Linked DNA regions of Homo sapiens: all the other regions are linked to region 2. The links are contacts of gene promoters, found by promoter capture Hi-C in human tissues and cell types (Jung and others, 2019). All regions are on one chromosome and are shown on one strand. The core of a region is centred on a gene start or on the middle of the fragment in contact, and the rest is flanking DNA. Distances in the headings are between cores, read along the strand shown.

Region 1 (4,291 bases), core at 1,359-3,858, 160 kb before region 2:
ACCTTCTTCGAAAGTGGGTTTAAAAAAAATAGTTCAAAGTCATTTGCAGCAAGAGAAATTCGGTAACTGCAATAATGCTCATGTGCCCATTACAGACTCACTGGAATGCTGTCTCCTGAGAGCCCTGGGATCCAAGGTGTGCTTAATTAGAGCCTATTTTTATTTAAGAATGAAATCCTGCTAACCAGAGCCTATTCCTAATAATGAAAAACACAGAATGGGAACTGAAATCCACATGAAGCCACTTCTCCATCTGAACTCATGACTAACCTCAAAGGGGGATTTAAAAATGGCTCTGTGAGGCCCGGCGCGTTTTCTCATGCCTGTAATCCCAGCACTTTGGGAGGCCGAGGAGGGTGGATCACGAGGTCAGGAGATCGAGACCAGCCTGGCCAACATGGTGAAACCCCGTCTCTATTAAAAATACAAATATTAGCTGGGTGTGGTGGCAGTCACCTGTAATACCAGCTACTCGGCAGGCTGAGGTAGGCGAATCACTTGAACCTGGGAGGTGGAGGTTGCAGTGAGCTGAGATCGCACCACTGCATTCCAGCCTAGCGACAGAGCGAGACTGTCTCAAAAAAAAAATAAAAATAAAAAAAAAGAAAAAAAAGGCTCTATGTTACTGTTGCCATGCAGCAGAACTGAGCATCACGGGACAGACATGTCAGAACCGTGTTCACGTCATGCCTGAGGAGATGGTGATGAGAGGAAGGGTGTGACGAAAGACCTGCAGACACATGTCCATCTGTGGTCTCCAGGTGGTATCTGTTAGGAAGGCTACCTGGAGGCATCAGTCATCAGTTAATCTAGCCATTGTCTGTTTCTGTTTCATAAGAAGAAAACTTTAGGATCCAGACAAGACCATTAAGAAAGATCACGATGACCATGGCACTGACTTTGAAAAAGATCCTCAATGAGGAACTATTAGTTTATCTAAGTAGAGCTAGGTAAAAATGCCTCGTTCATTTTCCATTTTTTCTTTTAATTTTTATTTTATTTTGAGAAAGTCTTGCTCTGTTGCCCAGGCTAGAGTGTAGAGGCATGATCTTGGCTCACTGCAACCTCCGCCTTCCAGGTTCAAGTGTTTCTTCTGCCTCAGCCTCCCAAGTAGCTGGGATTACAGGCATGTGCCACCAAGCTAGGCTAATTTTGTATTTTTAGTAGAGATGAGGTTTCGGCATGTTGGACAGGCTGGTCTTGAACTCCTGGCCTCAAGTGGTCTGCCTGCCTCTGCCTCCCAAAGTGCTGACATTACAGGCGTGAGCCACTGCACCTGGCCTCTTTTAACTTTTAAAATCAACTTCATTGAGGTTAGTTTACATAAAATAAACCCATTTTAGGTGCTCAGTTTGAAGAATTTTTACAAGTATGTATACCCATGAAACCACCACCCCAATCAAGATAGGAAACATTTTCTTCAATCCAGAGGGCTCCCGCATGGCCTCTGCGGTTCACCCGACCCCTAAACCCACACGGCCACGGGTCTGCTTTGTCACAAGAGATGAGTTTTGTATCACAGCATTTCACTTTGTTGGAAGCACAGAGTGTGTACTTCGTTGTGTCTAGGTTCTTTCTCTTTGGGTGATGTTTTTGAGGCTTGCGCATGTTGCTGTATGCAGCATGCCTTCACCCTTTTTAGTGCGAAGGCACATCCCGTTGTTTGGCTCTACCATAATCGTCTGCTCATGCACCTGTTGAAGGACATTTGGGTTGTTGTTTCCATTGTTTTGGTAGTTACAAATAAAGCTGCCGTGAATGTTTGTGTGCAGGTCTTTTGTGGATCCGTGCTTTCCCTTCAGTAAATACCTGGGAGTGGAATGGCTGGGGCGTGTGATAGGTGCGTGTTTAGCTTCCGGAGAAACTGCTACCTGTTTCTCCAAAGTGGGTGCACCATTGCATGTTCCCCACAACAGCGTCTCCACATCTCTGCCAAAACTTGGTATTGTCAGTCTTTTTTTCTAATTTTTTCTTTTTCTTTTTTGTCTTTTGCAACAGAGTCTTGCTATGTTGCCCAGGTTGCTCTCAAGTCCTGGCCTCAAGCGATCCTGCCACCTCAGCCTCTCAAATAGCTGGGATTACAGGTGTGCACCACCACTCCCAATTTGTCTTTTTAATTAAAAAAATTATAATAGCTTTGTAATAGTGTCTCGTGATTGTCATTTGCATTTTACTGACAACTAATGGCATGGAGGGTCCTTTCATGTGTCTGATATCCATTTGTATCTTTTTCAGTGAAGTGTCTATTTATAGAATGTTTGGCATATTTTTAAGAATGGTTTATTTTCTTATTGTTGAATTCTGAGTGTTCTTTACATATTTTGGACACAGATCCTTTGTCAGCGCTATGTATTGTAAATATTTTCTCCCATTCTATGCCTTGCCTTTTTTTTTTTTTTTTTTTTTTTTTTGAGACAGAGTCTTGCTCTGTCAGGCTGGAATGCAGCGGCACGATCCTGGCTCACTGCAAGCTCTGCCTCCCGGGTTCATGCCATTCTCCTGCCTCAGCCTCCCGAGTAGCTGGGACCACAGGCACCTGCCACCACGCCTGGCTAATTTTTTTTGTTGTTGTATTTTTAGTGGGGACACGGTTTCACCGTGTTAGCCAGGATGGTCTCAATCTGTTGACCTCGTGATCTGCCTGTCTCAGCCCCCCAAAGTGCTGGAATTACAGGCGTGAGCCACCGTGCCCAGCCACCTTTTTGTTTTCTTAATGGTATCTATCAAAGAGCAAGCTTTCAGTTTTTTTAATGTATTTTATTTTATTTTGAGACAGGGTCTTGCTCTGTCACCCAGGCTGGAGGGCAGTGGCACAATCAGGGCTCACTGTGGCCTTGACCTCCCAGGCTCAAGTGATCCTCCTGCCTCAGCCTCCTGAGTAGCCGGGACTACAGGAATGTGCCACCACGCCCAGCAAATTTTCTGAGTTTTTTTGCAGAGACAAGATCCACTGTGTTGCCCAGGCTGGTCTCAAACTCCTGGGCTCAAACGAATCCACCCGCCTTGGCCTCCCAAAGTGCTGGGACTCCAGGCATGAGCCACCCCGTCCAGCCCAACACCCCCTTATCCTATCTCAAGCATTTCTTTCTACTGACCTCAAGTCTTTAATTCTTTCAACCAGTTGCCAATCAGAAAATCTTTGACTCCATCCATGACCTGTAAGCCCCTTCCAACCTTCACTTCAAGATGCTCTGCCTTTCCAGGCAAACCAAAGTATACTAACCTGCATCCGTTTACGCCTTTGCCCACAACTTCTGCCTCCCTAAAATGTGTAAAACCAAACTGGAACCCAGCCACCTCACGTGCATTCTCAGGACCTCCTGAAACTGTTCCCTGGGCCATGGTCACTTGTATTGGCTCAGAATAAACCTCTTTCTTTCTTTCTTTCTTTCTTTCTTTCTTTCTTTCTTTCTTTCTTTCTTTCTTTCTTTCTTTCTTTTTCTTTCTTTTCTTTCTCTTTTCTTTCTTTCTCTTTCTTTCTCTCTCTCTTTTCTTTCTTTCTTGCTGTCTTTCTCTTTCTTTCTTTTCTTTTTTTTTTTTTTGAGATGGGATCTTGCTCTGTCCCCCAGGCTGGAGTGCAGTGGCACAATCATAGGCTCATGCAGCCTCAAACTCCTGGGCTCAAGGGTAAACCTCTTTCAATATTTTACAAGTTTGGCTTTTTCGTCAAAATTGCCTCGGCATCTTTATTTTTTTGTTTATTTGGTTTTTGCTTTTTTGAGACAGGATCTCACTCTCATGACCCAGGCTGGAGTGCAGTGGTGCCATCACTGCTCACTGCAGCCTCGACTTCCCAGGGCGGGTGATTCTCCCACCTCGGCCTCCCGAGTAGCTGGGACTACGGGTGCGTGCCACCACACTCAGATAATATTTGTATTTTTAGCAAAGATGGGGTTTCACCATGTTGCCCAGGCTGGTCTTGAATTCCTGAGCTCAAGTGATCCACCTGCCTCGGCCTCCCAAAGTACTGGTATTACAGGTGTGAGCCGCTGTACCTGGCCTGGCATCGTTGTTGAAAATAACTTGACCTGATGTAAGTGGATGAAGTTTTATTCTCTCTGTGTAACTCAGTTGATCTCTATGTCTCCCCTTTTGCTAATATCACAATGTCTTGATTTATAGTAAGTCTTTGGTATTAGGTAGAGTAAGTCTTCCAACTTTGTTCTTTTAAAATTTGTTTTGACTATTTGCACTTCCATATACATTTTAGAATCAGCTTGTCATTTTTCTATAAAGAAAGCCAGAATTTTGCTGGGCTCTGGATTGAATCTATTATCAATTTGGAGGAGAC
Region 2 (3,982 bases), core at 788-3,287:
CGCCTTGATTTTGAACTTCCAGCCTCCAGAGCTGTGGGAGAAATGTTTCTGTTGCTTTAAGCTACTTGGTCCATTGTCCTTTCTTGTAGCAGTACCAGCAAAGGAATGCTGAGGTCCCACCGCCCCAGAAGAACTTCCGTGACTGCCAGGACAGCTGTGCTCGTTTAAAGGCTAGACTGCAGATGCTGTGCGCATTCTGATTTTATTAAAATCAAAAGTGTGCACAGCAGGGTCCTGAGTGGGACCTTCTGGGACCTGTGTTCAGCCCCACCCACCCCACAGTGCAGCTGCCGAGGCCTCTGAGGCAGAGTAGGGGAGAGAGATGGCCTGGCCCTGGCTCTCCGGGGCTGGCCATGTCCACCCAGGGTCCAGGCCGGCCCCCGGGGACACCACAGGCCATGGTTATGAGCCAGGCCCGCATCACACAGCTAAGGGTGCCAATACCCTGTGGACCCAGAGGTCCGCGAGGTGGGCGCCTGCATTTCCCATTGGCAGGAAGGGAAGCTGGCGCTCCACCAGGACTCTGCATAACTCCCCTAGTTTCCTCCTGTGGGTCTGGGTGGGCTCCTGGCCTGTCTTCTCATCCCCACCCTCTGCTTCTTCCCAGGAAGAGGAGTCCTGCCAACTTCCATTCCCAATAAGCCAGAGCAGCTTCCAGAGTCCCGGGCCGGGCTTAGGGCCTCGGGAGCCCCGGGCCGGGCTTAGGGCCTCAGGATCCTAGAGCATTCCGGCTGCAGAATTTTCTACCAATTCGCGGAAGCATCTGTCTGTTTGCAGAGTAGCTTTGCTGTCGATGATGATGGCATGGGTCCTTCCAGGGCCTTGTTCCACCCACGCTGATCTCATCCCACCACAAGCATCACAGTGGGCTCCTGCAGGGGGCAGTGTGGCCTGAGGGGGAGGAAGAAGGCTGGGCGAGTTGGAGCCACACAGTACCCCATGAAGACGGGAGTCCCGTTCCGCGTGGGAGACAGGAAGATGTGGCTCAGGGGACAGAGGCTGGGGAGGGCAGGGGGTTGAGGGTGGGATGGAGAAGACCCCCGTGTGATGTGACTGGAGCTCCAAGTCACCAGGCGGAGGGGCCGTTTAGGTCAGTGATGCACTGAGGATCCACTCAGCCTTCCCAGGGGTCTCCCCTTTCCACCCCACGAGGGTCTCCCCCTGCTCCGTCTCTCCCTCACACATTCCCTTCCCAGGCCTGGGTCCCCTTGGTGCCCCTGCCTGTCCACTTTGTCCAGGATGCAAACAAGTCTAGGGTCCCTGTCTCTCGTGTCCCCACCAGAGGGGCCTCCTCTTCCTCCGCTGTCCCCAGGCTTGCCTGGCTTCTGTCCTGTCTGGGCCTCTGCTTTTGGACAGACCCGGGGGTCCTGGACAGCCCTGCTGCCCCCACCTGTCCAGCTGTGCATTAGGCAGCTCCTTCCCCGACGGAGCCAGTCCGAGAGTGGTGGCACTGGCTCGGCTCAGCCTCCTCCTCCCTGGGAGCTCCTCTGCTGTGCCCCTCGTCCTGTGCCTCCCTGTGGTGGCAGATGGCTAACTGTCCTGTCTCTGCCTGCCCCAACCCCTCCCTCTCTCTCTGTCTCCGTCTTTCTACCTCTGTCTCTGCCTCTTGGCCTCCCATCTCACTGTGTCTCCGTTTCTCCTTCCCTCTCCCTTTCTCTCTCTGACTCTGTCCTTGTGTTTTTGTCTCTGTGACCTCTGATCCGCCCGTCTGACTCTCAGCCCCAGGGAGCCACAGCTGGCCTTGAGGATGCCGTTGGCTGGAAAGGCCAAGCCCAGCCATCCGAGCCCAGCCTCTGGCAGCACTCAAGGCACCCACCGTCCAGGCTGCAGAGATGAGAGGGTTTCCCCAACTGCCGCCCCTCCCTGCTCCCTGGCGCTGCTTTTGGGTCTGAAGGGCGAGGGGCACTTACGACTTTCCCCGAGCAGCAGGAGGCCAGCCAGGGAGGCACTGAGCAGGACGAGGTGCAGTGGGCGCCCCATGGTGTGGCCGAGTACTGTGTCCCTGTCCTCACTGGGACAGGCTGCTGGAGCAAAGTCCACGCCCCAGCTGGGATGGCTGTTGTCTGGCTGCTTATCACTTGGCTTAGGCCTCCTGATTGGAGCCGAGACCTGCTGGCGAGGCAGGGGAGTGACCACGCTGGGAACACATCCACTCTGGCCCCACCTTCCCCAGGCAGAGCTGGGCGGCCAGAGAGGCCCCGCAGAACCTCATCCTCATCAGTCACCAGGGCCGCGGGTGTGGGGACTTTCTGTTCTAAGAATAAAAACATCATTTCGTGCTCATTTTGTAGTTTCCAGATGTTTACATTTAACTCTCAGTCCTCACATACAAATATCATTTTCCCCATCATTTTTCCAGAAGAGAAAACTAAGTTTAGAGAGCGCAGAAGCCTGAGCCGAGGCCGCTGGCAGTGAGCGTGGGATCTGAGCCCAGGACTTCTGCCCCAAGGCCCTGCTTGTTTCTGGGCGGGCCCTTCCGCTCACAGCCACTCTCTGGGTGGTATCAGGTGGTCTCATGTCACGGGGGGGGCTTGGCATCTGCACCATGGCCTCCCACAGGCCAGGCTGGCACCTGCCCCACCCACCCCCAAACCTTCTGTGCCCGCATGGCCCCAAAACGTACTTCTGTGGGGAGTGACCTTCCCGTGACCATCTGGAGGGACAGGCTGTGTCTGAAGCCCCTCCTGACCTGCCCACCACTGGCCACACTGTTCCGAGGCTGAGAGGGCTTCTGGGCTCGTTCTCCAGTGCAGAAACCTCCCATCACAAGGTCCTGAGTGTCTCTGCTCAATGGCTGTGGGAGTCACTGGGAGGTGCAGCCGGGCTTTTTGCCTCTGGGGTCTCTGGAATAAATGGTCTAAAGCTTGGCCAGTGTGGCGATCACTGCCTGCTATGCCGTAGTGGCCGGGGAGCAATGCCCCTAACACCCACAGCACTGGCCACTGCCTCATGGTGCATCTGCCTTGATGGGTCGCCCTGTCTCGCAGCCACCTGCACATGAGCCTGGTGTGCACACATTGTGCGTCATTGTGCCTGGCACACAGGAGGCACTCACTGAGCCCCACCCGACTGCACAAACTGATGATGCTGGATGCCAACGCCAGGCTGGCCTCCCACGGCGGGCACCACGCACAGCCTGGTCCTCTGAGAAGGGCCTTCCTGGTGGCACCAGATGTCTGACTCCTGCCTCTCCTGGTCTCCACCCTCTGACATCGCCTCTAGGCATGTTTGTATGGAGAGACCAATGCGGTGTGTGCACCAACAGCAGGATGCTCATGGCAGACACGCAGTCTTTGTCATCAATGCTGGGTGGCGATGCTGGCTTTGGTGGCCCAAGCCTGCCGCCTCATCCCACCCTGTCCCAGGCCCATGGCCAGTGGCCTCCCCGTATTCTATCTCGCCACTCACAGAAAGCTGGAGCTGAGCCGTGGCAGGTGGCACGTCCCATATGAAACATGTAGCCTTTGGGGGCGCCCAGGCCCTTCAGCGAAGCCTCTGGGGAGTCCCGGGCCCCCTCCTCCGGCAGCACCATGAGGTGGGCGCCTGCATTTCCCATTGGCAGGAAGGGAGGCTGGCGCTCCACCAGGACCCCGCATGACTCCCCTAGTTTCCTCCTGTGGGTCTGGGTGGGCTCCTGAACTGTCCTCTCATCCCCACCCTCCGCTTCTTCCCAGGAAGAGTCCTGCCAACTTCCACTCCCAAGAAGTCAGAGTGGCTTCCAGAACCCTGGGCTGGGCTTAGGCCCTCAGGAGCCCCGGGCATTCTGGTTGCAGAATTTTCTACCAATTCACTGAAGCATCTGTCTGCAGAGTGGCTTTGCTGTCGATGACCATGGCATGGGCCCTTCCAGGGCCTTGTTCCATCCATGCTGATCTCATCCCACCATAAGCATCACGGTGGGCTCCTGTTTTACACATGAGGAAACTGAGGCATGGTCACTCGGACAAAAGAGAAAGCAGAGCCAGCTCTGACCTGGATCAGG
Region 3 (3,809 bases), core at 1,156-3,655, 150 kb after region 2:
ATATCTGGTAAGCTGGACTTGAAAGTCCTGGTGAAGCATGCAATTATCGGTAATGCAGATGTGTGGGAGGACGCACATCTCACTGCCTGTTCCAGATGAGACGATGGCCCACACCGAGCGCCCGGCTCGCACGACATTCAGTGAGCAGACAGTGTCACTGCTGCTCTTCTGAGATAGCCTTTTTCCAATTAAAAATGCGCACATGTCTCTTGGAGCTCATGAAGAAACCCCAATCCCTAAAAACCTGGGGAATGACATCAGCCTCTGGAGCGGTTCCCACTCTGTGACTCTGACACCGAACGGCACGCAGAGGCATGCAGAGCAAGGGGGGCTTTCTCCTCCACCCCCACAGCCGATCGGAAGCCTCCCTGTGAACCTGGCATCCACGCAGCCCTTCACCATACTCAAACCCTGCAAACCCTGCACGGAAAAGCTCCACTCAAGCTTCAGAAAAAGAGCTGATTCTCTAAGAATCAGGGAGCAGACGGCATGAAAATGGTTTTGTTTTCTTTCGACCCACATACAATAAACCCAGCAGCTTTGATCATAAAAGCCCCCATTAAAAACATCTTGATTAGACCATCCCATACGATGGTGCTTATGCTGATTTAATCACTGGTTCACTCTCAGAATCCATCGGGGTGGGCAGAGAAAGAGAACCACACCCAAACCAAGCAACTGACATTTTAATCTCCCAGGCAAGTACTAGTTAGACAACTAGTAATGGCATATATGACATAACATATGGCAACATCAGGCAAAACACTTGGCAACTTACTTTTAATGATATATCATTATTTCCTCTTCATTTCAAGGAAAACGAGTTAAGGATGCCTCTCCCTTCTGCATAACACAGCCTGAGAACTCAGATGCGACCGCCTGAAAGCCACGGCCAGATGCAAGCTGTCAGCCCAGTCTCTGCTTACACCTAAAAGAATCGATCTGAACTACTCTTCAAAGCTTATTTGAAGTAATATTTCGATTAATACTGAAAATGAACGTCCAGTCCACTCTTTACCCATACCGTCTCAAACATCTGTCTTAGGTTTAAATTGCATTTAATGAAGAAAAGAACCACCTGATTAGTCCAGGTTTTTTCATCCTCAAAACGAGCTTCCAGGTAGCTTCACCATCCCTACCCCTGGCTCTGAAACCCCAAGCTCTGAAAGCCCTTGGCTCAGATCATTCTCCATTCGCAATGCATTCTCCATTGCGAGGGCTGCGGACAGGCAGGTTGATGGGCAGACTTCAGACACACAAATGGCTCCGCATGCAGACCCAGCAACCCTGAGAGAGCCAGTGTCACCAACGTGCAGTCATTTTGACTATCCCGGGCAGCATACGATCGCCGACAGCCTCTGAAAACACACCAGCTGCCAACCAGTGCCCCCCATGTCACAGCTACCACGGCTAGAAAGGAACACGAGGGCGGCTTACAAAAATCAGACGCATTTCCCCACATTTCAGCCCATGATGTCAAGCTTAAGCACAGATCACTGACGGCCAGCAGCTCCTCCTACCCGTGTGCTTGGAAACCGCATTTAATCTCTGCACCATTTCTTCCAAGGCCATCTCTTCAGTCCTCAGCCAAAACCTCATCCTCCGACACAACAAAAATGATCCTGGCAGATCCGCTTCCTCCGCACGGGGGGCGCCTGCGGGTGGGGCCGTGCGAGTGCGGAGGGGGCGCGGCGGAGGCGGGGAGGGGGCCACGGCAGCGCTTTCAGCCTCCAGCCGCCGCCTCCCTGCCCAGGATTGGTTCCGCGCCACCGGGAGGGGGGCGCGCGCTGCGCCGCGGGGGGCGGGGGGCGGCTCGGCGGAAGCGGAAGCGGCGCGCGCCCGCCCCGGTGTGTCACCACCGCGGGTCACCTGGGAGTCCTGTGAGTGCACCGCCGGGGTCACCTGGGAGCCCCGCGTGTCACCGCCGCGGTCGTCGGGGAGCCCCGGGGCTCACCAACGAGGTCACCTGGGAGCCCCGCGGGTCACCGCCGCGGTCACCTGGAAGTGTCACCTGTGTCACTAGGTCACCTAGTGTATCACACAGGTCACCTAGAAATTCGTGTCACCGCCAAGGTCACCTAGAAATTCGTGTCACCGCCGAGGTCCCCTGGGAGCCCCGCGGGTGCCGCACAAGTGCCCCCGCCCTTCCCCCCGGTTCCGGGTCTCCACGCCCTCCTGGTTTGCGGGCAGCCGCGAAGCCGCGAGTGGACCGAGCGAGTGCAGCTGCCTCCGCGGGGCCGCGCCTGGCCGCCGCCTCCCTTTACCTCCGGCCGCCCCGTGGCAGGTGTAGAAGCTGCAGAGGCCGCAGCAGCCCAGCGCGCCCCTTCCGTGTGGCCGCATGCCACCCGCGCCGCGCCCAGGTAAGCAGGTCCGTGGGTCGCTGGGTCCATGCGTGGGTCCGTGGCTGGCCGGGGATGGACCAGCCCCTCCCCGCAGGGGCATCGCCTGCCCAAGGACGCAGGACCCAGTGAGGGAAGCGCGCGCTGCAGGCACGGGGCTCTCCACCCTCGCCATGGTTGGCACCAAGCCACACTGTGCACTCGACACACGCAGCGTCCTGGCTGCCACCTGCAGATTCCAGCTCGTGTCTATGCAGGGCCATGGCCGCCATCACAGGGCCATATGCAAGAAACTCTCTGAGCTCTCCTCGCCCAAAACCGCAGCTATCCTTTTGTGGTTTGGTATTATAGGTAACATGCCCTTCCTTAAAGAAACAGTATTTCAGGCCTGTAGTCCCAGCTACTCCGGAGGCCGAGGCAGAAGCTGAGGCAGAAGCAGGAGGATCATTTGAGCCCAGAAGTTTGAGCCTGGGCAATGTAGCAAGACCCCCCCCCCCACCTCACTCCCCAATCAGTTAAAAGAGAGAGAGAGAGAGAGAGAATTCCAGCAGGAAGAAGTACACATTTCCACGAATGGTTTGGGAATTCAAGCATCATATGGCTGAGGTTTGAACTACAGCTCATGCCAATAACATGTGCACATGCGCCAGCATTCCAGCGTCCAACAGAGCATGCGTGCACCATTCCAGCATCCGGCAACAATGCACCAGCATTCCAGCGTCCAACAGAGCATCCGTGTACCATTCCGGCATTTGGCAACAATGCACCAGCATTCCAGAGTCCAACAGGGCATGCGTGCACCATTCCAGCATCCGGCAACAATGCACCAGCATTCCAGCGTCCAACAGAGCGTGCGTGCACCATTCCAGCATCCGGCAACAATGCACCAGCATTCCAGCGTCCAAAAGAGCATCCGGCAACATCCCGGTGTCCAGTGGCACATGTGCACCTGGACGTTCCAGTGTGGTGAGCTTTCAGGCACGGAGCAAGGCCAAAGGGATAAAAAGATGAAGGTGACGCAGTACTCCCCCTTATAGTGCCTACAGGCCTTATAGGCCAGACAGATCTGGAAATAAATAATTCATAATAAAAAATAATTACAGAATAAGAGGCATAATAACCAGATAGAAAGTATTGAATAAATCTGTAAGAAATGGCTGCTTTGTTTTTGTTTTTGTTTAACATGAGAAACGTATTGAGTATCAGCAGTTTCACTTGGTTCTACAGAATCTCTTTGGAGACCAGTGAAAGGAGAACTCTGGAAAGGCCTCAGAGTGGATGGGAGCCTCTCCCTCTGTGGACAAGCGTTCCCTGGGCTGCCCAGGGTGCCTACGGCGGCACAATTGCTACCTCCTGTCTACACATGGTCTGCAAAAAGTGCCCTCAAATGGGTCTGCTCCTCTCATTCCCTGTCAGTTCAGGGAACCTTCACCACTCCCCATCCCCCACCGCCCCCCCACCCCAACCCTG

The links. Contacts are between HindIII fragments. The study calls those that stand out against the background at their distance.
Region 1: a fragment that was not itself captured here is called in contact with the fragment with the promoter of F10 in region 2 in 2 of the 25 tissues and cell types used here (IMR-90 fibroblasts and mesenchymal stem cells).
Region 3: a contact is called between a fragment that was not itself captured here and the fragment with the promoter of F10 in region 2, in 2 of the 25 tissues and cell types used here (H1 embryonic stem cells and dorsolateral prefrontal cortex).

What each region holds. Positions count from the first base shown.
Region 1 is chr13:113,280,520-113,284,810 of GRCh38, reverse strand. No RefSeq gene overlaps it. Among named protein-coding and RNA genes, the nearest start is that of LAMP1, 15 kb to the left of the region's middle. The HindIII fragment of the contact is 8,108 bases long and covers 1-4,291 here.
Region 2 is chr13:113,120,854-113,124,835 of GRCh38, reverse strand. F10 (coagulation factor X) reads right to left here and starts at 2,037. Exons shown (of 8, transcript NM_000504.4): 1 at 1,911-2,037. The coding sequence starts at 1,980. The HindIII fragment of the contact is 14,274 bases long and covers 1-3,982 here.
Region 3 is chr13:112,967,170-112,970,978 of GRCh38, reverse strand. It overlaps MCF2L (MCF.2 cell line derived transforming sequence like), which reads right to left and starts at 1,765. Exons shown (of 30, transcript NM_001112732.3): 1 at 1,521-1,765. The coding sequence starts at 1,599. It overlaps MCF2L-AS1 (MCF2L antisense RNA 1), which reads left to right and starts at 2,341. Exons shown (of 1, transcript NR_034002.1): 1 at 2,341-3,495. RefSeq lists a silencer at 1,830-1,889 and an enhancer at 2,091-2,610. The HindIII fragment of the contact is 3,406 bases long and covers 703-3,809 here.